6 separate regions of the Homo sapiens genome follow, and all the other regions are linked to region 6. The links are contacts of gene promoters, found by promoter capture Hi-C in human tissues and cell types (Jung and others, 2019). All regions are on one chromosome and are shown on one strand. Each heading gives the region's core, a stretch centred on a gene start or on the middle of the fragment in contact. The rest is flanking DNA. Distances are from core to core; before and after follow the strand shown. Region 1 has its middle 56 kb from the start of USP3. Region 2 overlaps TLN2 (talin 2). Region 3 has its middle 37 kb from the start of USP3. Region 4 overlaps LINC02568 (long intergenic non-protein coding RNA 2568). Region 5 overlaps USP3 (ubiquitin specific peptidase 3). Region 6 holds the start of RPS27L (ribosomal protein S27 like).

What was found. Contacts are between HindIII fragments. The study calls those that stand out against the background at their distance.
Region 1: a fragment that was not itself captured here is called in contact with the fragment with the promoter of RPS27L in region 6 in 2 of the 25 tissues and cell types used here (IMR-90 fibroblasts and hippocampus).
Region 2: a contact is called between a fragment that was not itself captured here and the fragment with the promoter of RPS27L in region 6, in 1 of the 25 tissues and cell types used here (hippocampus).
Region 3: a fragment that was not itself captured here is called in contact with the fragment with the promoter of RPS27L in region 6 in 1 of the 25 tissues and cell types used here (spleen).
Region 4: a contact is called between a fragment that was not itself captured here and the fragment with the promoter of RPS27L in region 6, in 1 of the 25 tissues and cell types used here (lymphoblastoid cells).
Region 5: a fragment that was not itself captured here is called in contact with the fragment with the promoter of RPS27L in region 6 in 1 of the 25 tissues and cell types used here (IMR-90 fibroblasts).

What each region holds. Positions count from the first base shown.
Region 1 is chr15:63,445,893-63,450,804 of GRCh38, reverse strand. No RefSeq gene overlaps it. Among named protein-coding and RNA genes, the nearest start is that of USP3, 56 kb to the left of the region's middle. The HindIII fragment of the contact is 5,139 bases long and covers 480-4,912 here.
Region 2 is chr15:62,738,523-62,742,904 of GRCh38, reverse strand. TLN2 (talin 2) reads right to left here. Exons shown (of 59, transcript NM_015059.3): 31 at 3,360-3,557; 32 at 2,136-2,275. Among named protein-coding and RNA genes, the nearest start is that of MIR190A, 83 kb to the left of the region's middle. The HindIII fragment of the contact is 3,403 bases long and covers 177-3,579 here.
Region 3 is chr15:63,464,645-63,469,613 of GRCh38, reverse strand. No RefSeq gene overlaps it. Among named protein-coding and RNA genes, the nearest start is that of USP3, 37 kb to the left of the region's middle. The HindIII fragment of the contact is 6,427 bases long and covers 1-4,520 here.
Region 4 is chr15:63,427,817-63,432,284 of GRCh38, reverse strand. LINC02568 (long intergenic non-protein coding RNA 2568) reads right to left here. Exons shown (of 7, transcript NR_120375.1): 5 at 943-1,080; 6 at 1-133. Among named protein-coding and RNA genes, the nearest start is that of LINC02568, 40 kb to the right of the region's middle. The HindIII fragment of the contact is 3,938 bases long and covers 1-3,670 here.
Region 5 is chr15:63,539,070-63,543,901 of GRCh38, reverse strand. All of the region lies in intron 3 of USP3 (ubiquitin specific peptidase 3), which reads right to left. Among named protein-coding and RNA genes, the nearest start is that of USP3, 37 kb to the right of the region's middle. RefSeq lists a silencer at 4,058-4,352. The HindIII fragment of the contact is 4,284 bases long and covers 864-4,832 here.
Region 6 is chr15:63,154,684-63,159,162 of GRCh38, reverse strand. It overlaps RPS27L (ribosomal protein S27 like), which reads left to right and starts at 1,686. Exons shown (of 4, transcript NM_015920.4): 1 at 1,686-1,763; 2 at 2,642-2,750; 3 at 3,432-3,542. The coding sequence starts at 1,758. RefSeq lists a silencer at 1,313-1,412 and enhancers at 1,594-2,167, 1,563-2,222, 2,373-2,462, 1,747-2,946. The HindIII fragment of the contact is 14,496 bases long and covers 1-4,479 here.

The DNA.
Region 1 (4,912 bases), core at 1,800-4,299, 290 kb before region 6:
TAAAACCCCATGTGGGGCCGGGCACGGTGCCTCACGCCTGTAATCACAATACTTTGGGAGGCTGAGGCGGGCGGATCACGAGGTCAGGAGATCGAGACCATCTTGGCTAACACAATGAAACCCCGTCTCTACTAAAAATACAAAAAATTAGCCGGGCGTGGTGGCGGGCGCCTGTAGTCCCAGCTACTCGGGAGGCTGAGGCAGGAGAATGGCGTGAACCCGGGAGGTGGAGCTTGTAGTGAGCCGAGATTGCGCCACTGCACTCCAGCCTGGGTGACAGAGCGAGACTCTGTCTCAAAAACAGACACACAAACAAAAAAACCCACGTGTCTTTCACTGCCTCTGGGTCTCTTCTTCGGCCTTTTGAGCCTGGTGCCATTCCCCAGTGGAGTCGATAGGGGTTTGGCACAGCAGGGATCAATCCAGTCACCCTGCCCTCCCCCCACCCATCGGAGGAGATAGCAAAGAATGGTCTCACTTTATATCAGCTGTACTCTCTACAAAGTTAATCATCAACCTCATCCCAATGCATCTTGCAGAGATTGGAGGTGGAGTGGTGGGGTTTTGGGGGAGAAATGAGGTACTGGCGCTGCAGAAATGGCGCTGTGCCTTTCAGAAAGTTTATACAGGGGTAGCTGACCCCGCAGCTGGAGGTGCTCTAAAAATGTTAAAGGTTTCCAGCTGTTGGCTCTTGGGAAATTCTGGAAATGAGGAAAATCCCACTATCATGTCCTTAAAATACAAGGAGGCGAGTGCTACACCAAGGACGTTTGCCAACAGGACAGGGGCAGGGCCACCTCTGCTTGGGTGGGGGGTGGTGCGTGGCTGAGGTTGGACAGTGACTTGGAGAAGCCAGGCACTTGCTCAGAGAGGGGAGGGGCCTTCCAGCCAGGGAAGAGTATTTGCAAAGATCCTGGCAGGAAGGACAGGGAAGAGTCAGGAATCCTGGCCTGGCTGGCTGGTAGAGTGCCTGGGGGCAGAGGAGGGAGAGGCTTCTGGAAAGTGGGTTGCAGACACTTGTGAGGGTTATGACTGCCCAAGTAAGGGGCATGGCCTTGTGTTGACTTAAAGGGGCACTCAGAGTCTTTAGGTAGGAGAGTAACATAACAAAATGTGTGTTGTTTCAACTTTTTTGCATATTATCTCTTTATGATAAAGGGTATTACAATGGCCTGTATGTTTAAACATTTTACATTTCTAACGCTTGTTTTTAAAATTATAGGGTGTGCAACATTCCAGAACAAAAATTTCCATGGGATTTTATAGAACAATTAAGAGGAGATACATTCTTTGTGCAGCTATTTTAATATAGTAGTCTGCTATATATACTTTTTCATTTCTATTAAATTATAAAGGGTACTAAGTAATTGTAAAGTCTGAATAAATCTATGTTTATAGAAGAATATTGCCGAGGTCAACACAAATTACTATTTTTATTTGCATTTTCAATTAAAAGATTAACTTAAACCTCACCCAGTGACTCCTGACATGTACAGTGCTTACTTGACACAATATTTTCCCACTTCTGCAGTAACATAGGCAAACAATTCAGTAACTTTTGTGCTTTTAGAAACAACAGCCAAGTTTCAGAAAAAAAAAGTATTTTCTCTGGTTCTTCACAGCTCACCTTGAATATTATTTGTTGGGTTTTTTTGGGGTTTTTTTTGTTTTTTTTTTTTTGAGATGGAGTCTCGCTGTGTCACCCAGGCTGGAATGTAGTGGCGCAATCTTGGCTCACTGCAACTTCCGCCTCCCCGGTTCAAGCGATTCTCTTGCCTCAGCCTCCCGAATAGCTGGGACTACAGGCCCGTGCCACCACGCCTGGCTTTTTTGTATTTTTAGTAGAGACGGGGTTTCGCTGTGTTAGCCAGGATGGTCTCCATCTCTTGACCTTGTGATCCACCCACCTCAGCCTCCCAAAGTGCTGGGATTACAGGCGTGAGCCACCACACCTGGCCCTATTTGGGTATTTCTAAAACTACTCGTACTTTTCCTTTTATTTAAAAAATTTGAAAACATACAGAAAAGTTGCAAAGACCATACAACAAGCACCTGTATACCCTTCGATGAGATTCACCAGTTGTTAACATTGGACCACAGTCTCTCTCTCTCTGCACCTCCTGGGTGTTGATGTCTCTTCAGTTCCCACCTTTGGAGAACCTGAGATCTTGCCCTGCTCTGAAACTTTTCAATCTTCCCTACATCCAAAAAATTTACACCCACCAGGCTCCCAGTTTCTCATTGTACTTCTTTCTTTGAAATGAGGAGTAAGAAGATTTGAGCTCAAATTCTGGTTCCTCTATCTTGTGACCATGAGGAAGACAATGTTTCTGGGCTCCAGTTTCCTCATTTTTAAAACGGAAGAATATGTGGGGGAAGAGGGCGGGGGAAGGGAGAGCATCAGGACAAACGGCTAATGCATGTGGGGCTTAATACCTAGGTGATGGGTTGATAGGTGCAGCAAACCACCATGGCACATGTTTACTTATGTAAGAAATCTGCACGTTCTGCACATGTATCCCAGAACCTAAAATAAATTTTAAAAATAATAAAATGGAGGAATAATGCTTAAAAAAAGTCAAAGTATATGAAAGTGCTTTGTGAACCCTAACAGCTCCATAAAAATGTAAGGGGCCATTATTACCATAAATGAAATCCTCTGATGTATTAACAGCTTAATGAGTTAATGCTCCCAAGTTATCAAGGCAGCCCGATGAACTGGGAACCAGTTTGAAGCCAGAGAGATCTAGTCTGCTATTAATTACTTGTGTGACCTTGGGCAAAGTTGTGTAACAGACTCTCTGGGGTCTTAGTTTCTTCATCTGCAAAATGGAGATCACGATCCCTATCTCGCAGTGGAGTTATTTGTGTTTGCTCAGCCCCAGGGCTTGCTGGACTGACCAGGGCTGCAGTAGAAGAAGACGGAGAGGTGAGGGTTGAGTGTTGGGGTGAGAGGGCACAGGGGCAATGATTCTCAACCTTGGATGCACATTGGAGTTATCTGGGAACTTTAAAAAAAATTCCAATGCCCAGGCTGCACCTGGGACAAATTATCAGACTCTCCAGGGGGTGAGGCCAGCCATCAGTATTTGTTAAAGCTCTCAGGTGATTCCAATGTCAAGTGAGCTAACAAAGCTAACTTCTGCTGTCCCTTCTCTTCTCTCCCTTTGGGACCATGACCCAAAAGAGTAACTAATGGGGGCAACCCTAGGCCTGGTGCAAAGTGGTGAAGAAGGCACTCCAGGATAGGCAGGACTTTCAGATCCTCTCCAACACAGGCAGCTGCGCACTGGGGCTGCCTAAGCTTCCTGAGTGTATTTAGGTCCAAGTCATTAAGTGACATCATTTGAAAGCTAAAAAGATCAGATTACAGCATCATGTTGATACCCTTTCTCCCTTACCACCCCACCCCCCCAAGTACAAAGGATCTTATTTTTAAAAACTCTCCTTAATGATAGCTACATACCGAAATGTTGTTGAAGCTGTCTGTTCAAAACATCAGCAATATACTTAAATGTATAATAAGCACATTATGCATTTAGCCTGGGGTTAGAATTGTCAGCCAGAGGCTTCCAGGAGACCACGTGGGCACCCTCCAGCCAGGTCCTCCTATGCTGGGCTGTTCTCTAGCCCGCATTTGAATAATTTGGGTTTAGGAATTACAATGAAGCTTTGCATCTATATTATGTTCTTGCTAGGATGTTTTGGGGAAGGCTGTAATTTAGTGCTTCTGCCCCCAAAGATGGGGAGCAGAGTCCTGCTTTGTCAAAAGGGTGGCAGGAAAAGCAGGAACTAGACCCTGAAGTCTTGGCTCTGAGGATCCCTCTCTCCTTCCATGAGCAGTTGCCTTTGCTTTTTGGGGAGCTTTCCTTTCCCAGGTAAATGGCTAGTTTCACCTGGCATGAGGTTTGCTAGGTAGATGCTGCAATAAATAGTGCAGGTGATTCAAATCGCCTAAGTGGCAGAACACCTGGAGGTTGTAGTGCTTTTTCAGCTACTGTGCCATTATCATTTATTATGTGCCAAGTGCTTGATGGACATTGTGGTATCTAAACTGCCCTACATTCTGCAAGGTGGATACTATCCCCACTTATTTTCCAGTGATAAAGGCTCAGAAAGGTGAAATAGTTGCCCAAAGTTACACAGCTAGTAGATGGCAAGACCAAGATCGGAAACATAGAGCTGATGGACTCCACTCTCAGCATGAAGCTACACTGTTTCATGAGGCCCACATTATCAGCCCCACCACCTCCTCTGGTGGTGAGGCCTCCTCAGAAGCATGAGGATTAATGAGCAAGTCTTGTCTCCACCTGAAACAATCGAGCTGCTAGGTGGTACCTGCAAAAGGCCTCCCCACCCAGAATGGTTTCCTCTTACGTCCACAACGACCACCACCACAGACATGACGATAATTACATAAATGGCATCAAAGAAAGACATTTCTTTCACTCTGGCATCATGGGAATGTCCCCAGCCTTTTCTGGGAAGGTCTCACGTGGGTACATCTAGAACAAAACACGGGCCATCAAGATTCATCTCTGACTTTCACACAATGTTTTTGTGCCACTTTTTGTGCCCACCCATTGCTGTTCCCCCTGGGTAGCAGAAGCCAGAGTTGTAATACATGTATCTTAACATCTAGTCTTGATTTTTAAAATTCAGATCTATAGCATCTCACAATCACAGCATCGTAAAGCTGAGAAGGACCTTGAAGCTCATCCATTTTATTCTGAGACAGGGTCTCACTCTGTTACCCAGGCTGGAGTGCAGTGGTGTGATTGCAACTCACTGCAGCCTCGACCTCCTGGGCCCAAGCGATCCTCTAACTTCGGCCTCTTGAGTAGCTGGGACCACAGGCATGTGCCACCACGCTTGGCTAATTTTTAAATTTTTGGTAGAGATGGGGTCTCTC
Region 2 (4,382 bases), core at 629-3,128, 420 kb after region 6:
GGCAGAGCTTTGTGTCCCAAGAGGAGCCTGCCTGACCCTCTTGACCTGGCTGGAGTCTCTGCTGAGAAACAGCCCCAGGGAGCAGAAGCTTGCCAAAATGTGCCAAAAAACCAAGGAGAATGTGCCAGCGTTTTCTCGCAACAGTTCCATCCCAAGACAATCATTTTCATGTGATGATTTTTAAGTGCTTACCTGGCTATGAAATCACCAGGCTGGGAATTCTCCGTCAACTGCTAAAAGCCAGGACAGAAAGGCAACGAAAGCTTTTTTTTTTCCCCTTTTCCCCATGTCCTTTCTTCGAAGCCACCACCAGGGGGCCTGCACCTATTCACAGAGCCATACACCAGCAATATTCTTTCCGGCTCTGTTTCCTTCTATATCTGGCTTTCAAAAGGGCAATTTATACATTCCCCCTCCTTCCCACAATTTAGGAGAGTGAAGCCATTCCAAGCTGGAAACTGTAATTTTGAAATGATGCAAAAAATTGAAGATAATGAAAAACATCTGAGTTCTGATACCTGGAAATGTCAGTTGCCTTATCCAAAGGCTCCTTTGTAGGAAAAAAAGCAACGATCAAGAGGGGGTTTTCTATCAGAAACAGCTGCTCAACAGAACAGACATCACCCCCAACCCCACCTCCCATCTCTCCCACCATCAAGGGAGGTCACTTATTTACTAGAACAGTCACGAACAAAGCATGAGATGGGAAGATAATTTTCCAGTCCCCTAGTGGCTCTAGCTATTGTTTGCAGTTAAAATGTACCTTCCAGGAATAAATGAAGAAACTCAAGGGTTTGCAAGCAAACTGCTCTGACAGTGTCTAACCCTTCACACACACACACACACACACACACACACACACACACACACACACACACACCCCACTACAAGCCAAGAGGGAGGAAGGACATGTTTGGACCATGAGTACCATGAGATCTTATGTGCTGAGAGCTAAGGAGAGCTTTAAGGATGATGTAGTTCATACCCCCACTTTGCAGATGGGAAAGTTTAGACAGGCTGAGCAACCTGACCAATGCGACTGAGTTAGTCAAGTATTAAAGCTTGGAATATAATTCAGGTCTCTTGATGCCGACAATTTAAAAAACAGCCAATGATCTCCCAGGGGAGACATAAAGACACACACACACACACACACGCGCAAATTTTAAAAAACCAAGTTAAAAAAAGGAAAGCAGAATCAAAGCTATGCTTTTCAAAAATCACGAATCTGCACATTATAAAAAGGCCTCCAATTACTCTCTATCCCCTAATAGTCCTGCTTTTAATCTCTCTCCACTGTCAGCTTTCTTATACGTAATATGATGGTAAATAATGCTAAAAAAACATGCCTGCACCACCACAGAATCATGACCACCCTACTCTCTGGGTTCAGGAAAATGAAAGAGGGGCTGCTGATACGAGAACCCCCTGGGCTGTCACTGCAGTGCTCCACATACCACATTCAACCACTAGTTACTGAACTAACTTGTGGCCCTGGAGCAGAAACTATACTGTTTTATCCACTTCCCTGGGTGAAACCAACAGGAAAGAAGGACACCCAAATCATCCAAAATTCACACTCATGTTTTAATATATTTCCAAAAACAATTTATTCCCACTGCCTCCCTACTCATCTTAAAGTGGAGCCTTCCCCATGTGACAGATACAACATGTTACATTCAATCTAACACTGATGCCAGGCACAGGGTTAAGTGCTCAATAAAAGTCTGCTGAATGACTTGATGAGCACTGCTTTTCATCTTTACGCTTTTCAGTATTTTCTGATGTTTCAAGAAGCATATATACTATTTTATAATCAGAAAGATATAATGCTACTTAAAAAAAATCTGTTTAATTCATTGCATTTACAAGTCAAAATGGACCTTACGTCTAAACAAGTCTCTACTGAAAAGGCTGTATGAGAAGACAGAAGATATTTTTAGTGGGGAAAGAACATGGAAATGAGCCAGTTTTATAAAATATCAGAGTGTCCATCACTCTCAGCTCCACCTCCCATGACCTAAGGACAGCACCAATTCTTTTGCTCAGCAAAAGTGGGAGGATGTCAGGCACATCTTCAGACTGCAATGACACTGTCTAACCACACACGAAAGCACATTGTGTCCCACTCCTACCTTGCAGCTGCAGCCAGGAGATTTTTCGCATTGGGAGCTCCTGGATCTACAGAGAGAGACTTGGCAGCTAACAGCAGCTTGCTGGATGCCATCGAGATATTCTTGAGGTTCCCTATCACTTGGATCTGGTCTTCTTTTGTCTGGAAGGTCAAAAGGAGCCGGAGCTATTAGGGCCTGTCCATTTCTTGAAGGAGGCATTCAGAGAGCTAGGAGCAGCATCCTGACATGCAGGCAGGTTATCCGTATAGATCACATTAAACCCAGTTAGCCCGCAGATGCCTAACTCGTTGAGACACTGACCAGTGTCTACCCTTCTCCAAACAGATGCTCAGATCAAGATGCATGCCACAGGGAAAGAAATCCATCCCCAAGTGGGTCAGCCAAGAGCTGTGCTTTTCTCACAACTAGAGGCATTAAGCGGGGAGCAGGGTGGGAGGAGAGTGAGCGAGCTGTGAGCCAATGCACAGACCAGGCAGCGATTCCAGCATCTTGCTCAACAATGCTGGAGTTGTCAAGGAGCTGTACATCTCGGCCTGGCACAAACGACCAGCACTGTCTCGATATTCAGAGCTGACTGCATCCCTGAAGTTCCTGACTCGGGAAAGCACACATTTCTCACCCGGTTGCCATCTGAGAAACAATTCTTTGTAGATACTAGAAGAAGATACACCCTGGTTATCTCTTTTAGGGAGGTCAAAGGAGCGCAGAAAAAAAAAAAAAAACAAAAAACACAGCTCTGCAAGCTGACACCAGATCAGTCAAGCTCCCTTGTTCTAAACAAGGGGTTTATCTGTTCATCTGAAGGAGGTAATTTTTAATCACTTGACACTCTGTATTAGACACAGACCATCTGAATGGTCCATTAAACCTCAAATACATATATATTTTTATTGTATTATCCCACATTTGAAGAGCTGTTCTAATCTTTGTTAAACATTCTCCCTCCTCCTACCCTCCCTCCAAATAGTAAGACTATGAATTCTGCTGGAGGATCGTGGGAGAAGTTATTCTTTATTACTAACAGCACCTCATGCATAAGCTGATAGCATCTTTGGGAATGCCATTCCCATGAGGGCATGAGCTTCCTAAGCAGCAAAAAGAATGCAACCATGGCCTGCCTGTTTCCAGGTTCCTTTTCCTATTTGTTCAGTCAGTCTCAAGGATGGATTATCCATCCGAGAGGAGAGGCTAAGGTCAACTCCAGACAACCACCTCCACACCCACCTGAGCTTGGCCAGCCATCTCAATGCCAGCATCGAGGAATTCATCAAAATCATCACTGAACTTTCCAGAGGCTGCAGCCAACTCTCCACTCTGGCCCCGGGTGGCATGGACCACTTCCCCAGCAGACTGGTTCAGATCAGCTGCTGCCTGGTTCAGTTCACTCTGGGCTTCCTGGAAAGGCTTCGTGCTTGGAGGTAGCTGTGGGGAACAGACGGCACACCCCATGAGACATTCTGCTTTGCAGGGGAGGGATAAAAGGAAGGTATTGTGGAAGGGAGACAGACTCTTCAGAGATGCATTTGAGTCATCACGATTAAAAGGCTCTGAGTCATCTGAGCCCATTTTATTAATAGGTTTGACCACCAACATATACATCCATTCATTCATTTAAATGTATCAAACACCTGCTCAGTGCTAGACACTGTGGATCTAAAAATGTAAGCTATCTACAGGGGCTCAAGGTTTCCTAAGTGGCAGAGACAGGATCCACACCAAGGCAATCCGACTCCAGGGTCCATTCTCTAAAACTCTACCCTATTTTGTCTCTGTTAAGATGAAAGCTAAGTTTTAGCTTTGTAAACTAAAAGGCAGATGCTCTCAAACTTCAAATCACGTTCTTCCAAACTAATAGCCACCAATTATATTAGTGGCCTTTGCTAATAACTTTTAAATGTCATCTAGCAGACTGATAACCATTTGTGAAAAGTTCTAGGGAGTTAAGCTAGACTCTATTCATCACCCACAAACATTGCCTCTATACCTGTGCAGAGAAGAAACAAAGATGCACCAGCACAAACCCTCCTTCAGCAGACTCACAAAGCAGGGAAGGGAACAGGCCCCAAGGTGAAATTCCTCAGACTACTCGCTCTCTCACTGAGGCTTGGACACACGTACCCTTCCAACACCTGACTGTCACTATCTGAGATGTCCTGATGAGAAGACAGGTGATCACATACCCCTTTGCCTGTCTCACCGGGACGATCCGAGAGGAAATGGCAACATGGGCTCAAAGAAAAAGTAAAC
Region 3 (4,969 bases), core at 58-2,557, 310 kb before region 6:
AAGCCAGTTATTTTGTAGAAAGTACCTCATTTTGGGTTTGTTTGATGTTTCCTTGTGATGAGTTCTTGTTGTACTAATTTGGCAGAACTATCCCAGAGGTAATGCTCTGTTCATCTCAGTGTGTCATATCAGGAGGTATGTGATGTCAATTTGTTCCATTTCCCGTGATGTTAATGTGGGTCACGTGGCTGATTTGTTGCTATGTCTGAGTCCTCCCCCTGGCCCATGAAATCCTTCTCAAGGTCAAAGAGAGACTCGGCCTGATTCATCCTGGCATCATGGTACCTGAGTACTTAGAATGTTGGAAGGTGAGGAATGAACACTTACAGAGCCCCTCCCACGTGCCCAGCTCTGTGGTTGCTTCTCATTTAAGACTCACAGCGACCCCATAATTTATCCTCATTTTACAGGTGTGCTCAGTGAAGATGAATAATTTGCCTAAGAACACTTGACTGGTAAGTAGCAGATCCAGACTCAAATCCAGATCTGTCTGCCACTTCCCATAACACTAATTCCCTGGAACTAATACACCTAGTCAACATCATGCAATGCTTTGAATGAATATTTTTTTTTAATGAAACAGAAAAATCTAACACCAAGATGACCAAGAAACTTAACACCTTTCTATATCAGCAAGGATTCATTTTTTCCTTCCTTTTTATTCATTTATCCCTTCAACAAATATTTATGGTGGGCTTACTATGCACCAGATGGTGTTATAGATAACAGGGCTATAATAGTGAATAAACAGCTTACATTCTAAATACTAGAAAACCCAGCTAAGGTCATTTCAACAAGAAAAAGGCTAGCATTAGAGTAGCTTCAAGGTTGGTTAATTTAGTGACTCAAAGGTGTCATGGCTAAGGTTTGGGTTCTCTGAGACTCTTTTAGTCTTCTCCTTTGGTCAACAAGGTGTTTGCTTTAGTTTTAAGCAAGACATCCTCAAAGGAAACACAGGGGATGTTCCTGTCATTGTCCCTTTATATGAGCAAAGAAAGTCTTGCTAGAATCCTCCAGGCTGACTTCCCTTCCACCTCATTGCCAGAACTATATCATCAGCCCATGCCTAAATCCATACTTGGCAAGAGGATTGAGCCACTATGCCTGGCTTAGGCACTCTGGACTCACACCCCTACCCCACTCCAGACTACCTCTGAGCTCAACCTTCCCCAAAGCATTTGGTCATCAGAAGAGTAGGCAAGTGAACAAAATTGCAACTTTTTTTTTTTTGAGACGGAGTCTCACTCTGTCGCCCAGGCTGGAGTGCAGCGGCGTGATCTCGGCTCACTGCAAGCTCCGCCTCCCGGGTTCATGCCATTCTCCTGCCTCAGCTTCCTGAGTAGTTGGGACTACAGGTGCCCGCCACCACGCCCAGCTAATTTTTTGTATTTTTAGTAGAGATGGGGTTTCATCGTGTTAGCCAGGATGGTCTCAATCTCCTGACCTGGTGATCCTCCCGCCTCAGCCTCCCAAAGTGCAGGGATTACAGGTGTGAGCCACCGTGCAACTTTCTTTTAAGAAGGAAATAGGGGAAAGGTTGTTAAATAGGCTACTGACAAAATTTTTCAAATCTCCCCTCTCCTAGTTTACCAAATATTTAGACTCTGTGGCTTCTTAGAAACTCTTGTTTATACAAATAAAATTTGCCTCACTGCTATTCCTTGTATTAATTTCTGCTTCTTTTTACTTACCGTTAAGTCACATAATGTCTTTCTTTATATATTCCTATATCTTGTCCCATTCCAAAATAAGGTCGCTTTTCCATGAGTATACAGAATCTTAGCCAGGGGAGGTTTAAAAAATATCTAATAACTAGTACTAAGATGTTCATTGACCACTGCTTCATGTGGGATCCTGGAGGCTGCTGGGCCAGGCATTTACTATTTAGTTGCTAGATCAGGGGGAGTTCAGGAGGATCCCAGTAGAGGGGCAAGGGAGGCTTGGAGGACACTCTGGCTCTACTATTTACCAGTTGGTATGAAAATACTTATTTTAACAACTAGTATAACAGTCCCCACGTGACAGGCTGGACGTCGGTGCTAATCTGCATGACAGCCATTTCCAGTGTGAGTATAATGACCACGGCACAATTTTCCCCACGGTCGGGCATCTGGGCTGCCTCTGGTTTTAACTGCAGTATCAAGCTCAGTTCTACACAACTCTATATGTGCTTTTGTTTCATTTTTATATTTTATAAACTTATTTATAAATATGTATTTCATATTTTGTTTCCTTGGAACATATTTCCCAAAGTGGTATTCCAAGGTCAAAGGGTTTGATCAATTTTATAATTTGACATGGTGATTTTTAAAAGCATTTAACCATGGGTTCAGAAACATCCTTGCCCATTTTTTCACAGACTCCTGTTGCTGGAGAGCTGGCAGGCAGTACGGTATGGTGGAAGGAGGGTGGGTGCTGGGTAAGGAGAGCGGGGCTCGGGTCTGGGCAGTGTTTCTCTACTAGGAGTGGGGGACTTGGCAGTGTCTTAGCCTCTGTGAAGCTTGGTTTCCCCAGCTGTGAAATGTGAAACGTGGGAGGTGCCATCTCTCCCAGCATCAGGCACAGCAGGCATCAGTTGCCTACATCTGTTCCTGATCTTGGCCTGAGGCCCTGGCCATCCTTGTCACACCCTCACCCTGGCCCACCTTTGTGGAGGGTAGGCTGAGTAACTTGACTTGAACAATTAACTGTCAAAGTGTCAAGGAAGGTGTGGGTTCTGCACCATAAGGAGGTGTGTAGACTGCCATCTTCTGGTGCAAAATGTTAGTGTCCAGATGATTTAGGGATCAAGCTACTCTCCCTTGTGTCCCCATGAAGATCTGTCCCCCCCGGGGGAAGCTGCAAGAGAAGGGGCGGGGGGGTTCTCCCAACACAGGCTGGCCCTAGAGTCTGGTACTTTAAGGTGATGTCCTCCTTCTGCCAGTGACACTGAGAGAGAGGAAGATGCTGGGTTTTGAAAGCCTGCTTGTAAATGAAGGTGCTTTTTGAGACTGTGGAGGTGATGGCAAGAAGGATCTTTGTGAAAACAGGAGGTCTATATCAGCAATTTACTAAACCGGTTCAGAGAGGCTGACAGCAGTGGTCAATCAGTCCACAAATATTTACAGAGCGCCTACCATGTGGCAGACACATGCTCTGGCAAACGCTGTTGAAAGAGACAGGCAGGGTTCCTGCTCTCATTGTCTAGTGGGAAACATTGGTGATAAGGTTAATTCTTTTTCAACTGATATGCTTTCTTTTATTTAGTTGGAGATAAACAGAAAATTAAAAGTAATTTAAACCATACTATTTTGCCTCTCAAACACTACAGCCAATTTTATTTCAATACCTTCCAGCCCTTTCAGATGCGTATGCACACTTTTAGCAGAGCTATAATCATAATGCCTATGTGATCCTGAAGTTTGTTGTATTTGACTGATAATAAACATCTCTACACTGCTATCAATCTGCACAGTTATCCTTATTGCTGTATAAGAGGCAAATGTGTGGCTGTATCAAAATCTATATAGCAATTCCCTCAAGTTTAGTATTTTTTTTTTTTTGCTACAATAGATATTGTTGATGTTGACTTCTTTATGGAGGCTTTTTTTTTTTTTTGAGATGGAGTCTCGCTCTGTCGCCCAGGCTGGAGTACGTTGGTGTGATCTCGGCTCACGGCAACCTCCAACTCCCGTGTTCAAGCTATTCTCCTGCATCAGCCTCCTGAGTAGCTGGGACTACAGGAGCCCGCCATCACCCCTGGCTAATTTTTGTATTTTTAGTAGAGACGGGGTTTCACCATGTTGGCCAGGCTGGTCTCGAACTCCTGACCTCAGGTGATCTTCCTGCTTTGGCTTCACAAAGTGCTGGGATTACAGGCGTGAGCCACTGTGCTGGCCTCTTTATGCAGATTTTTATTGCATTACTTCTGAATAATCATGGATATAGTTCTTCCTATGTGTTTCCATATTAGTTCCCAAAGGAACTATTACTAATTTCGAATGCCACCAATATTGTATCAGTAAATCAATTTTGCTGCAACATCAGGTACATTGAATATTGTTGCTTCAAGGCATTTTTGAAAAGATTTTTAAATAGAGTCCCAAATTTGCTTTCTGCAGCATATCTTTGGATGCCAGTAGGCAGGTTTTTTTTTTTGCACATGTGCTATTTATAATTGCTCTTGTGTAAATGTCTGTTTATATTGTGGTTAAAAATTTGAATGAGTCCCTTGTTTGATGGCTTTTCTTAAAAGAGAGAAAAGCAATAGAAGATTGCATTACTGTAGCCCAGAGGGTCAGAATGGCACATAGGGTGTTACTCATTGGGTTAATAACTGTCTGGAATCTTCCCAAGAAAGCTCAGCTGTTCCAGGATCTAGAGTGCAAGTCTCTTCTGCTGCCCAGAACTGCTAAGCAAGAAAAGTGATTCTATAACACCCTTGGTGTGCTTGATTCAATCATGGAAATGACATTATTTCTCACTGTTTATGAAAAAGAGTTGGACACCAGTCTAGGTTACAATAATGCAAATGAAAGGTATGCGATTGGAGCGTTGTTTCCTAGTGACTTGGAAAAATGCATGGCATCCTTGAGTGTCTCAGTTGGAGAAGGCCTCTTCAGATATGGCCCAAACCAGAGAAGTGAAGTGACTTGCAGAAGCTCACACAGCAAGCCAGAGAAGGACTAAACCCCTAGCTGGCATCTATTTTAAATGAACCTGTGATTCTCTCCTTCCGGGCTTCCTCTCCTCTCCATTCCTTCTTCTTCCACCCATGGCCTGCCTCCTCCCAGCCTGCATAATTACCAAAGCATGCTCTGGGAGTGCCTTCTGCCTTGGGAGTAGGTTTCCTTTTCCTACATACCCTCCAACAAGACCCCTGGGCCTTTCTCTCTGGGAATTCAAAGTACTGTGCCACGCAGTGTTTTGTGCAGTAGCTAAAATATTTTGCCAGCACACAAGATCTTCTCCTCAAAGAGGACTGCGGATG
Region 4 (4,468 bases), core at 452-2,951, 270 kb before region 6:
AATTCTGGGGAAGGTCCTCATCCAGGGAGGAGGGAGAGTTCCAGGTGAGGGCATCAGGCTTTCTGTTCCTGACTCATTGCTTGGATCTGGAGTAAATCCTTCTATGTTTTGGGACTGCATCCTTTTTAAGCTCCTGAAAAAGAAGGGAAGCTTTCAGAAATGACTGGAGGGATGAATTCTTTGATTACAGAGCACTTGAAACACAGTACAAAGGGCCCAGAATAATTCTTTTCTTGAATCACCATAGAAGTATTTCTCAAGTATTTTGTATCACACGGACCATGGGCATTTGTATAGAGGTAAATGTGATTCAGTGGAAAAAATGTGGGCTCCGGAGGCAGGAGACCCAGCCCCAGTCTCAGTGCTGCCACTTTCTGGGTGACCTGGGGCAAGCTGCTCATTATAGCTACTGCCGGTGCTTACTATGTGCCCGGCGCTTTATAAAAATGATTTATTCCCAGCACAATGATCATTCGCCAACTTACAGATGAGGAGACAAACTGAGTGCAGTTCTCCAGCTGGGAGATGCAGGGCTAGCATCTCGCGCATTCAGACGCGAGATGCCTGGACAGCCTCAACATCCATTCTTGTACCTTTGCAGTCTTCCCTCACCCCTGCAGGGAGGCCTGGGGAGAAAATGCACGTGAAGCACCTGGGACATTATAGTTGCTCAATACACATCAGTTTTTCTCTCATTTCCATGCTAGATATGGAAATGCAAAGAATACAGGCTGGTAGTTCCAGAGAAGATTCTTTCCATTCTCTCTCTCCCCCTGCTTCCTCCAATTATTTAATTCTCACCAGCATTACAGCCATTGAGAAATATCAGCTGGAAGGCAACTCCCCTAGCCCCTCATTCAGGACTCTGCTTTCTCGGGGTCTGTGGGAAGAGCGTTTTTGCTGACCTTACTTAGGACCAGCTCATATCCACTGAGTACTTACTATGCACCAGCTGCTGCAACCAGCACCTCGTGGGCATTTTCTCACTTCATCCTCAGAACAAGCCTGTGAGGCAGATGTGATTGACAGCTCCATTTCAGAGGTAAGCACACTGAGTCTTAAAGAGGGCCGGTCACTTTCCTGAGTCCACACAATTTGCCAGTAGCAAAGTCAGAATTAGAAATCAGATCTGCTTTATTCCTAAATTCTTCATGCCCCTTGGAAAATAGACATTTCTTTGGGCAAACTGGGATTTGCCCATCTGCTCCCAGCTGTCTCCTTTGCTCTCCTGAGAATGCAGTAAAACAAAACCAAGCCTAAAATAGGTTAAGTCTAAAATGAAGATTCCCAGGCATTTGGGAGTCCCCAGGGCTTTAAGTAAACAATCGTCATCAAAGGGAAAGCTTTGTGTGTTGCAGGGCAAAGACACACCCTCTGACTTAGTAATTGCACCCGTGGGGTTTCTGCTAAGGCTATATTTAACATAAAAACCTCCACAAGTATATTTATCAAAAAGTTATTTCAATATCTGAAATTTAGAAGCAATATAAATATCTCAAATAAGGAAATGGTTGGTGAACTACTGTGCATTGACAAGACAGAACATTATGTAACCATTAAAATTATGACTCTTTAGGCTGGGTGTGGTGGGTCACGCCTGTAATCCTAACACTTTGGGAGGTCAAGGCGGGAGGATCATGTGAGCCCAGGAGTTCGAGACCAGTCTGGGCAACATGATGAAACCTCATCTCTACAAAAAATACAAAAATTAGCCAGGCATGGCAGTGCATGCTTGTGGCCCCACCTACTTGGGAGGCTGAGGTGGGAGGATCACTTGAGCCTGGGAGATTGAGGCTGCAGAGAGCAGAGATTGTGCCAGTGCACTCCAGCCTGGGTGACAAAATGAGACCCTGTTTCAAAAAAAAGAAAAGATGATTATTTAGACTACATAGAAATGGAGAAACGTTTATGTACATATCATATATGATTAAGTGTAAACGGTATAAAATACATGTGTGATATGATTGCAACTTAGCAAAGAGTGTATGCATGTGAGCAAGGTCTGGAAAATGGATTAATGAAAATGAAAATAGTGGTGTTAGGTTGATAGAATTACAGGTGCTTTTCATTTTTCAATAAAGCAGTACCTGTTCATGTTAAAAACAATTCAAACAATAAAAAAGGTGTGATCATTAGAGAAATTCAAATCAAAACCACAATAAGATACCATCTCACACCAGTCAGAATGGCTATTATTAAAAAGTTAAATAACAGCTGGTGAGGTTGTGGAGGAAAGGAAATGCTTATACACTGTTGGTGGGAGTGTAAATTAGTTCAACCATTGTGGAAAGCAGTGTGGCGATTCCTCAAAGAGCTAAAAACAGAACTACCATTCAACCTAGCAATCCCGTTACTGGGTATATACCCAAAGGACTATAAGTCATTCTACCATAAAGACACATGTACATGTATGTTCACTGTAGCACTGTTGACAATAGCAAAGACGTGGAATTAACCTAAATGCCCATCAATGGCAGATTAGATAAAGAAAATGTGGTGCATATACACCATGGAATATTATGCAGCCATAAAAAGAATGAGATTACGTCCTTTGCAAGAACATGGAGGGAGCTGAAGACCATTATCTTTAGCAAATGAACACAGAATCAGAAAACCAAATACCGTGTGTTCTCATTTATAAGTGGGAGCTAAATGATAAGAACACATGGACACATAGAGGGGACCAACACACACTGGGGCCTATCAGAGGGTGGAGGATGGGAGGAGAGGGAGGATCAGAAAAAATAACTACTGGGTCCTAGGCCTAGTACCTGAGTGACAAAACAACCTGTACAACAAACCCCCATGACACAAGTTTACCTATGTAACAAACATGCACACGTACCCCTGAACCTAACATAAAAGTAAAAAAAAAAAAAAAAAGAGTGAAGTTGAAAGTATTTCAGCTCTCCAGTGGTAGCGCCTATCACATTTTCTTATACCCTTGTCATGAAAGAGTTTTTACATTTAAAAATATCCTTAATGCTATTTTTAGTTAAAAACAAAACAAGTCTTTTTTTTTTCACAATGGCCAATCCTCATGTCTTTCAGATCATTTGAATTTTTTAAATAAGATTTTACTTTGTTTATTATAATTATTTTTAAGTTCTCACTCTGCTGCCCAGGCTGGAGTGAAGTAGTGCAATCATAACTCACTGCAGCCTCAAACTCCTGGGCTCAAGTGATCCTCCCTCCTCAGCCTCCCAAGTAGCTGGGACTACAGGCATGTGCCACCATGCCAGGCTAATTTTTTAAAGTTTTTGTAGACATGGGGTCTCGCTGTTGCCCAGGCTGGTCTTCAACTCCTGGGCTCAAGTGATTCTCTCACTTTGGCCTCCCAAAGTGCTAGGATTACAGGTATGAGGCACTGAGTCTGGCCTGTTTATTACAATGTTTTATTTTTTTAAATTTTGGACATACAAAAAAAATTAGAATATAATATAATGGTCATATGTGTAACTTCTACCCAGCAAAAAATTTAAAACATTTAAGATGTAGTCAAGGCCTCCTCCTGATTCCTGATTCCATTCCATCCCTCCCTCTTTGTTGATACTATGACTCTCCTGAATTTACTGTTCATCGTATTTTTCTACTTTTGCTATATATATGTATGTGTGTGTGTATCTTTCTTAAAAATATTCTTGTTTTGCATGTTTTAAATTTTTCTCCAATTTATATAATACTGTTTAGATTCTTCTGAACCTTGTTTTTTTCACTCAATATTGTTTTGGTGAGATTCATCCATATTGACAAGTTTGGGCATGTTCAGGGTGGTATGGCCGCAGACAGATTCATCCATATTGATGCAAATAGCTAATTCATCATCACTGCTGTTTAATATTCCTTTCTGTGAATGTAGCAATCTCTGTTGGTGTCTTGCCTGCCTATATCCTCTGAGCACTCAGCATTTCTCTGGCTCCCACTGCCAGCACCCACACATCATTGTCCACGGGCTTTCTTGACTGTTGGAGCATGATCTGTTGCTACATGGAGCAGGCCCAAAAGCCTGGGATTTAACAGCCCCCAGGAATAGCCCTCACCAATGACTGATGGAAGTTGGTAGATAAATACCCCAGCTCCCTTGCTCCTTAGGGAGGATAACTCTGAGGCCTCACTCTACACTGCCTCCTAGAATTTCCCAGCAGGATTAAGCTGCTGTTCACTGCCCACAGTGGTAACTTCCTTGATAATCATCTCAGGCCAGGTTTTCCAGAAGCAGAAACTGAGCTGGAATTTGGGATGTAAGATGTTTATTAGGAATCAACACCTCCAAAAGGAAATGGGGGAACACAGGACTGGGCAGAAGGAGGAGGAGAACTGTGACGCTGGCCTGATAAAGCCTTGGCCAACCTGCAGGGAGCTGGGGAGCAAGTACAGTAGCACCCATTAGAGTGTCTCGTGGTGGACCCAAATGGCTGGGTCTTTATACCTCCGCCTTGCTCAGTCCCTGGCTGTGGGCTGTCCTGGA
Region 5 (4,832 bases), core at 1,756-4,255, 380 kb before region 6:
TAAGGTAAAGGTTTGACATTAATGACAGTGAATATAGATTCATACTTCCTATCATCTTCATGTTAATTTTTAAACATTTTGTCCAACTTATCAGGTCTTATTAGTCTGTGTTTTTATTAGATAGCCAATAATTTTATCCTGTAATATGTTTGATGAGCACAGAGTAGGAAAATGTATCCATTTGCCCTTTTCTTGTGTTTACATCATCGTCACTATCTTGCAGAATTTAAAACCTTTTAGAACATGTGTCCATGTGGCTACACATATTATATGGGACGAATAAATCCATATAACTAAGCAGATATAGAATGCAAAATGCTCAAAGTAAACAGAATGAGGACACCACAGGTGAAACTGATTTAGGAGTCTGTGTGTAACTCATGGCACACAATCATCAAATCTACAGACCTCTGGCAGCAGGTGTTAAATATTTGACAAAGGTTTCTTTTCTCCTCCCAAATAAAAAGGTACAGTGTTCTAAACGCTCTTCCCATACTGCCAGTACATTATTTTGGAGACCACTGCACTAAAAACTAGGTCCCTAGCACATAGTAGCTTCTCAAAAAATGTTACTTATTGAGTAAAATGTGTCTTTTTTTTTTAATGTTGTTCACAATATGTTTGAGGACCATCATGTAAACCACGATCTGTCCCAAGTAAACATTTTGAAGACAAAAACTGAGGGAGAAAAGGACTACTTTTTATAATATCAAGTTTTCTTCATAAGGGTCATTACCTTCACTCTGTACCTTTCTTTAACACATTTATTCCTAGGTGTAACCAATAGTTTTGTCATTCTGTTGAATATTTTTGCTTGGTCATTTCCATTTTCAACTGATGACTACTAATAAAGAGAAAGCTATTAGTTTGTGTACATTTCTCACACATCAGCTTTCCAAAGTGTCTTACATTTAATCCTCATTGCTGTTTTCTACTAGAGTCCCCCTGGGCTTTCCAGCTATTCTATTGTATCATTTCAAAGTAGAAATAATTTTTTGTTTCCAATATTTATGCCAATTATTTGACTTTCTGTCTACTGTCTTACTGCAATGGCTAGAACTACCAAAACAATGCTTAATAATAGTGACAATCATGTAAATGATGACAGGAAGTATTAGTCTCGTTTCTGATATAATGGAAATGGCTTTGGCATTTCATCATTTAGTATATGATGTTTGCTTTCTGGTTTTTGGCAAACTAGAAGAGCTTAAGTTTCTGTTTATTTCAATGTTATTAGTTTTTTAAAACGAGAAATGGCTATTTATAAATGTATATTTTGCTTCCAATGGGACAATAATTTGAGGTTTCCTTTAATAATGAATATGTTCATAGAACTCAGGTGAAATTAACTCTACTTGGTAATTATATAATTTTTCTTTTTGATAGCTTACTGGGTTAGATTTGCTTTAAGTTATAGTTATTTCCAACTACAGTATTTTATTTAGTAAAATTGGCTTATTTTGTTTTTGGAGTTTCTGTTAGATTTCTATCTTAAGGTTTTGAAAGTTTATAACATTAATATACTTAATGTTAAATTTTAATAGTTTGAGGCTGCACTGTCCAATAGTAGCTAGCAGTCACATGGTGCTATTTAAATATTAATTAAAATAAAAAACACTTAATTCTTCACACTAGCCACATTCAATTGCTCAATTGCTACCATACTGAATAACATATATGTCATACCCAAGACAGAGAAAAATCTCTACCTCTTTCTCAGCTTTAAAATTCTAAGTTTTTTTCAATTCCTGTTGTTAGTGCTATTGAAGTTACTCAAGTCATGACTTCCACATCATGTCCTTGAAGAACTAAGAAAATATTCCCAAAGCAAACCATTCTTCACTCATCTGAAACAAGGAGGAATAATCATACAAATAAAACATTTTTTATGCAACAGTAAAGAAACAAGTCCTTTAATTTACTGGCAACAAAGCTATCTTTATACAGTAAGCCATGCATAACACTAATACCAAAAATAAATAAATAAATAAAACCTCTTATGCAACAAACACCCCTGACACATGACAGATCCTTCATTAAGTTTCACCAGCTCCTTTTCATTCACTTCTAAGACATTTTGATATTTACGGGCAAATTTGACATCTGGTTTTATTATAAATGACAGTAATACTGAAAAGAAAAAGCAAGCTGATATTCTAGTGACTTCACCTATTTCAAACTGAGAAAGGTTAAAATCTAAAAGAATTTGCTTAGGAAGCAAGAGCATTTTTAAATTCTCTTACTAAACTCTGATGTATTGCCATCAAATAAGCCAATTATGGAAAATTAGAAGAATACCTGCAGAGCAAACCCATATCCTTTGTTAAAAGCAGACAAGTACCAGCTTATCTTAAGGAAGAGCCTTTTATGTTTTAAGATTATCTCTATTAGAAAGTTTCTTCTTAAACTTCAAAATATTGTTTTTAAATAAACAAAACTCTCCCTGTTGTCTAATTTTTTACATTGAAAATTTGCGTCCAAATCGTTTATAAGAACATCAACAAAATATTTTCCTTTTTTAAAATTTTTAATCACAACTGCTGTAGGAAATGATTCATTATCTATTTAAACTCACAAATAAAGCTTTATGTTCATTTTAATTAAAATTGCCATTTATTACAAGTGTTTAAAATCTGAAATTCAAGCCTCTTTTCTAGACAACTGATTCATATTTCACAATATTTCTTCATTTGAAAGGATGCTTTAAAACATTACCTGCCCTGAAGGAATATACTTTTAATATTCCTTTCATAATTCTTCATTCTCAAAAATTCAGCTATTATTGATAAGGATATCGAAGTTGACAAGACTATGTCAGATGTCAAAAATTATTGGTTCAGTATTTTAAATCTATTAAATACAAAGGTCTACCTCCATAAAAAAACCAAAGTTCCTAATTTTAATCTTTGTTTCTTCTCAATCACAATAATGTACACCACATACAATTCCATTTGTATTGGTTAAGGGAGGGAAATTGGGATGGGAGCAAATGAAATATTACCTAACAAACAGTAAACTAAACACTAGCTCTTGTGTGAAATCTTGGGAAGATTTTTATTTTCATCGAAATCTTAATTTACCTTTCATTTTCAAGTTAATGTGCTTATCTCCTTAAGAAGTGGGTTTGTGTCAAATCAGAATCATTCCTTTTCGCACTGCTTTCTCTCTTAATGAACAGTAACCTGATTTATATTGTTCTGCCTGGTTAATGCATGCTTCCTCTCTGGGCTCCTGTTTACATCAAGGTGGAGGGGCACTGCTCTACAAGGGTGTCCATCTTGGGAGGGAAATGAAGTAGTTCACCTATATCATGATTTAAGTTGTCTGCAGGAAAAATGTTACGTGGCTCTTTAGTCCTTCAAGATGATCAGGGGACACAGTATTATAGATCTGATGTAACCTTCCCCATTTCTGAAAGACAGTTAACAAAATTCAGTCTTTCAAACGTATGTCACCTACTCTGCACCAGACACTGCATACTAGGGAAAAATACAAAGATCTGAGATATGGTATCTGCAGTCTCCAAGGACATTTACAAATAACTAACATGCAGCATGAAATTATAAGTATTCCAAGAGCTGTGAGTTCAGGAAAGATTACATTCAGCTACAACTGGAGCTGGGGAAAGAGAAGAGTTCAGTGATAACTTCATAAAGGATTGCAAACATAGGACAGGGCAGGGACTATTGGCAAGGGGAAAGCAGGGAAAGAAGAACTGCAAGCCTCAGAGTATGTTATAACTTCTCTAGGGCACAGAGCACACTGCAAAAAAGGCTTTGACTTTAGTCAAGATATTTATAATCAAACATGTTAAACCTAATGCACCAATGTTTTACCTCTGAAATCAATCATTCAGTCTAACCACAAGAAATTAGTGTACAAGGAAAATTAATAAATTGAAGTAAAATTACTAACGGGCACGAGGAAACAACACATGCACACACTCCACACAGAAATAGGAAATCTGTTTCTTCATCACAGTGAGGTGTGGGAGGAATGTTAATTTAAACTGCATCTTCGTCAATTTACAACTATCACAGATTTCTTTTAGGCCATCAGTGTAATGCTACGGGGTGATTCCCTAGCATTTTATTCTAAAACCCACAAGTGAGCCGACAATGTGACCAGCTGCAGCTCCCTTCCTGAATTCAGCAGCTCTGGGTGTCCACACACTTGCAGCTCTGTACAACTTCACACAAAAGCCTGGCAATCGGCCAAGAAGACTCCATCATAGTGTATACTCCCCAAGGTTCAAGATTTTCCATTTAATTCCAATTCCACCATGAAACGACATATACTTTAGCAGACCATAGCGAAATAAAACCAATTCAATTCCCATTTCTAGTTAATAAAATATGCCCCTAAAATACAATGTATAAAGATATTAAAATATATAATCTACATTTTTAAAGGGCCTTGAATATAATTCCATTCCATTAAGATAATTCTTAAAATTTTCTTTAACAGTTAGTTTCCTCAGAATCTTACCAACAGCAAGAAAACAATGGCAAACTTGTTATAGCACACAGCGATTTAATTGTATTTCCAAAGTCCTCCATTAAGCAATTCACTCACATTGCTAACTGAAAATCAAAAATCAATGTTCTCAGTATCTGGTACTATAGGATGATGTGACCCATGACAATGTGAGACAGATACTTCAAGAATTATATTAATTTCTGTTGTCTAAAGCAGAAATACAAACACACAGAAACACACAGTTCTGCAAATTACGTAGCCACATCACTCTAGTATATAAGTTTCCTGAGGGAAAGGGCGAAAAAAAAAAAGAAAACCTGAGGGAAAGGGGAATGCAAACGCTTTAACTGCCT
Region 6 (4,479 bases), core at 437-2,936:
ACATGGAGTGATGCTCATTTTATAGTAAGTGGGAGGAAAATTCAAGTCTACAAAAGATTATGCACAAGATGATCCCAATTAGGTTAAGTCAAAACCCAAAATAAACCTATATCCAAGAGAGTAAAAAATATTGGGAAGGATATAGGTCAAAAGTTAAAAATGTTTATTTACAGATGGTAAATTTTCTTCTATTTTTCTGCATTTCCCAAAATGTATATTATACATGTATCCTTTTTGCAAAGACAAATAAGGTGATTAAGAACATCAAGTCAGGGCGGGACGCGGTGGCTCACGCCTGTAATCCCAACACTTTGGGAGGCCAAGGCGGGCAGATCACTTGAGGTCAGGAGTTCGAGACCAGCTTGGCCAACATAGTGAACCCCCCCCCCACCATCCCCCGTCTCTACTAAAAACACAAAAAGTAGCCGGACATGGTGATGGACACCTGTAATCTCAGGTACTTGGGAGGATTGAGGCAGGAGAATCGCGTGAACCCAGGAGGCGGAGGTTGCAGTGAGCCAAGATCGCGCCACTGTACTCCAGCCTGGGTGACAGAGCAAGACTCTGCCAAAAAAAAAAAAAAAAAAAAAAAAAATCCAGTTAGACCAATTTTCTGGTAAAGTGTCTTTCTGGTTTCTTGCCTTTTGGTCGCCCATGACACCCATTTTTCAAGCATAGAGTTTCCTCCTCAAAAATAGAGCATGCTGTCACGCGCCGGTAGTCCCAACTACTTGGGAGGCTGAGGTGGAAGGACTTCTTGAGCCTAGGAATTGGAGACAAGCCTGGGCAATATAGCAGGACCCTGTCTCCAAGGAAAAAAAAAAAAAAAAAAAGAATAATGGCGTGTTCCTGTGGTCCCAGCTACTCGGGAGGCTGAGGCGGGAGAATCGCTTGAGCCCAGGAGGTCGAGGCTGCAGTGAGCTGTGATGGCACCATTGCATTCCAGCCTGGGCAAAAAAGCGAGACCTTGTCTCAAATAATAATAATGATAAAGACTCATGTTCGGTCATCGGTGACATTCGCCTTTCTCAGGCCCCCTAGTTGTCCACTCTGCAAAGGACGAGTAATCCTCGGAAGGGGTGGGGCCTCTTAGTGAATGAGGCACAGCAGCGAATCCGTGCTGTTTTAAAAACTTTTTTTCAGAACAAAGCAAACCTAAGGCACAGCCATACCCCGCAGAAAACTTCGAAATCTGCGCCTTGAAAAGGGAAGCCAAAAGGATACGAGCCTCTTTCATAATCTCTCTGGCACGTATTAATGGTTAATAATACTGTATTTTTTAATACACAAAAGAAGAGAATAGTGGCATTGCCCCGTGTGCCCACCCCCAGAGCTAACCGAGAGCGGCCGGGCCAGGGGGCCGGGGGCTGAGCGGCCCGCCGGGTTCCGGGGTGGCGCCGGCCCCGGTGGCCGCGGGCGCTCCCTCGCCATGGCCTAAGCCCGAGGCCGCTCCCCAGCCAGATTCTGGCCTCAGGCACTGCAGAGCCCGCGGCGCTCGCCAACAAGCCCGTTAGACCCACGGGACTTGGCACCCTGGAACGCTCACCATCCCCGGGTCTTCCCTGCGCCCTGGACCCGAGTACCCTGCTGCGGCGTCCCCCTACCACCGAGAGGAGGGCCTAGAGCAGACAAGCCCGCCCCGCCGCTCCTCCCAGCAGCTTCTATCCCGGAAGTTGATGCCGAGCGCAGATCGCTTGCAGCTTGCTAGCTGTGTGGGCTGGGAGGTCTGGTAGGGCTGAGCTTGCAAGAGGATCAACATGCCTGTGAGTTGTTTACATCGGGCTCCGGGTTTGTTTTGGGCTTCTTTACCGAGAGTCATATGGGACGGATGAGTCCGGCTGCCTCTCGGGCCTGTAGTGTCCGAGAGTGGCGAGGCGGCTCAGGTTGCGCAGCGTCTTCGCGCGTGGCGGGCATGTAGTGACTTGCCCGGTCACCGCGGCGCGGCTGGCCCTGCAGGGGCGTGGGCTGCAATTCAGAGGCGGTGGCTGGGAGGGGAACAGTTCTCTGTGTAGCTTATGAGCGGTCTTGGTCTTTGAGGATGCCCCTGAGGTTGTGATCTTTGGGTCTTTTGGCTTTCCCAGTGATTGGTGTTTCTCGCCCCCTCTGCCTTCTTTCGGAAGCGATTTCCTACTTGTTTTCCTTTTTTAAAAACTGTCCTCGTTGTTGCCTTATATATTAATTCCGTCAAGGACGGTCGCTCAGCAAGAATTCCTGTCAGATCAGCTGTTGAGCCACAGGAGCAAAAATCACCCAGGCGCTGACGTTGTCTGGTCTACTTCAGCAGTTTCTACTCTAAGCGAGTCCACAGTCGGGGTCACTTTCTTTGCTTAGCACCTCGACTTCGCGCAGTTTTCATCGAAGACAGTTCATTACGCAGTTGAGTAAAGAAGGACAAAGTTTGCCTTACCATATGTTTCCTGATCGTGCGAAAGCCCTTTTCTAGGGACTTGGAGAACACAAGTATTATGAAAAGTACTGATGAAAGTTATTAACAGGTTTCGAAAAATAACTTTACTATCTGACGTGTTGCTTCTGCCGAGGATGACCGTTATTCCTGTTTTTGCATGTATATTTCACGTATGGTTAAATGTGCCAGCGTTGTGGTTTAAAACTAATAGTAATAATATGCTTCTTTGTTCAGTTGGCTAGAGATTTACTACATCCGTCCTTGGAAGAGGAAAAGAAAAAACATAAAAAGAAACGCCTAGTACAAAGTCCAAATTCTTACTTTATGGATGTAAAATGTCCAGGTAAAATTTGAAATCTTAATTCCTTTACTAAAGAAAATTTCTGTAGGGATTGCTAGTGTGGTGTGTATAGTTAAGATACATTAGAACCCTCTGTTGAGTAGAAGTGGGATTACAGAATTGGAAATGTCAGGGACATTTTCATAATAAATGTACTGAAACCATTGTAGAAACATTTCGGGGTAAGTGAAAACAGGCATTCAAAGGAGATATGCCATTTGACTTAGCAAGTCTTTAAGCTCTTCAGACGATGAGTTTTCTGTTTCATGATACAAAGAAAAGTCTGTTGATTCTTCAGTCTAAAGCTGTGCTGCCCAATACAATGGCCATTAGCTGAATGTGGCTACTGAGCACTTGTGGATAATCAAAATGTGGATACTCAAAATAGAGATGTTCTTTAATTGTAAAATACTCACTGGATTTTGACGATGTAGCACAGAAAAAAAATACATTGATTACATGTTGAAATGATATTTTGGAAATATTAAGTTTAATGAAATATATTATTGATTTTACCTGTTTTTAAAAAATTTTGTGTCGCTGCTAGAAAAGTTTATGTTACACATGTGGCTTGCTGTTTCATAGCACTGAAGTTACTGATTTTTTTACATATTACCAGAAATGTCGAACAGGTGCTGTTTTCCTCTGCTTTTCATTTTTAACATTGCCTTTTTTTTTTTTTAGGTTGCTACAAGATCACCACGGTTTTCAGCCATGCTCAGACAGTGGTTCTTTGTGTAGGTTGTTCAACAGTGTTGTGCCAGCCTACAGGAGGAAAGGCCAGACTCACAGAAGGTATATCATTTGGCATTCTCCAACCCAGTGATGAGATTGATGATTATAAATGTCTCTATCTTCACTGAAAAGTTTAAAGAAATCTTAATGATTACCAAAATAACTTATCTTTCATTGTGTGCTTTCAGTAAAGAATGGCCTGTTCAAATGGATATATTTATACTCTTGACCTTGCAGTGAACTCCATTGACTTATTTTTCTTAGTTTAGAACACATTTATTCACTTAGTTTGCTTAACTTGGAATAAATTAAGTCAGAATAGAAGCAAAAGAATAACTACATGTTATAGGACATGCAGATTTATTTATTTATTTATTTATTATTTTTTTTTTTTATTAGGAGTCTCGCTCTGTCACCCAGGCTGGAGTGCAGTGGCGCCATCTCAGCTCACTGCAACTTCTGCCTCCCCGGTTCAAGTGATTCTCTTGCCTCTGCCTCCCAAGTAGCTGGGACCACAGGCGCGTGCCACCATGCCTGGCTAATTTTTTGTATTTTTAGTAGAGGTGGGGTTTCACTGTGTTAGCCAGGATGGTCTTGATCTCCTGACCTCATGGTCTGCCCGCCTCGGCCTCCCAAAGTGCTGGGATTACAGGCATGAGCCACCTCGCCGGCCAGGACATACAGATTTTTAAAACCATATAGAATTTTAAAATTTCTTTTACAAAATTTTGTTCCATATATATTTAGTACATATAATAGTTTTTTTTTTATCATTGCCAGCTAAGCAACAGATAGCTAATATATAAGTTAAAATGCCAGAGATTTTACTTTTATGAGCAACTGCAATGATTAATATAAAAACCTAATTTTAATTCCTCTTTCACTTTAGTGCAATAAGAAAAAAAAATTATATATATAGTTTCCATAGTAATACTTGTAAATTTGTGATTCCATAATGATGTTATAAATTTGCTTGTGATATTTTGGGGAGCTGTAA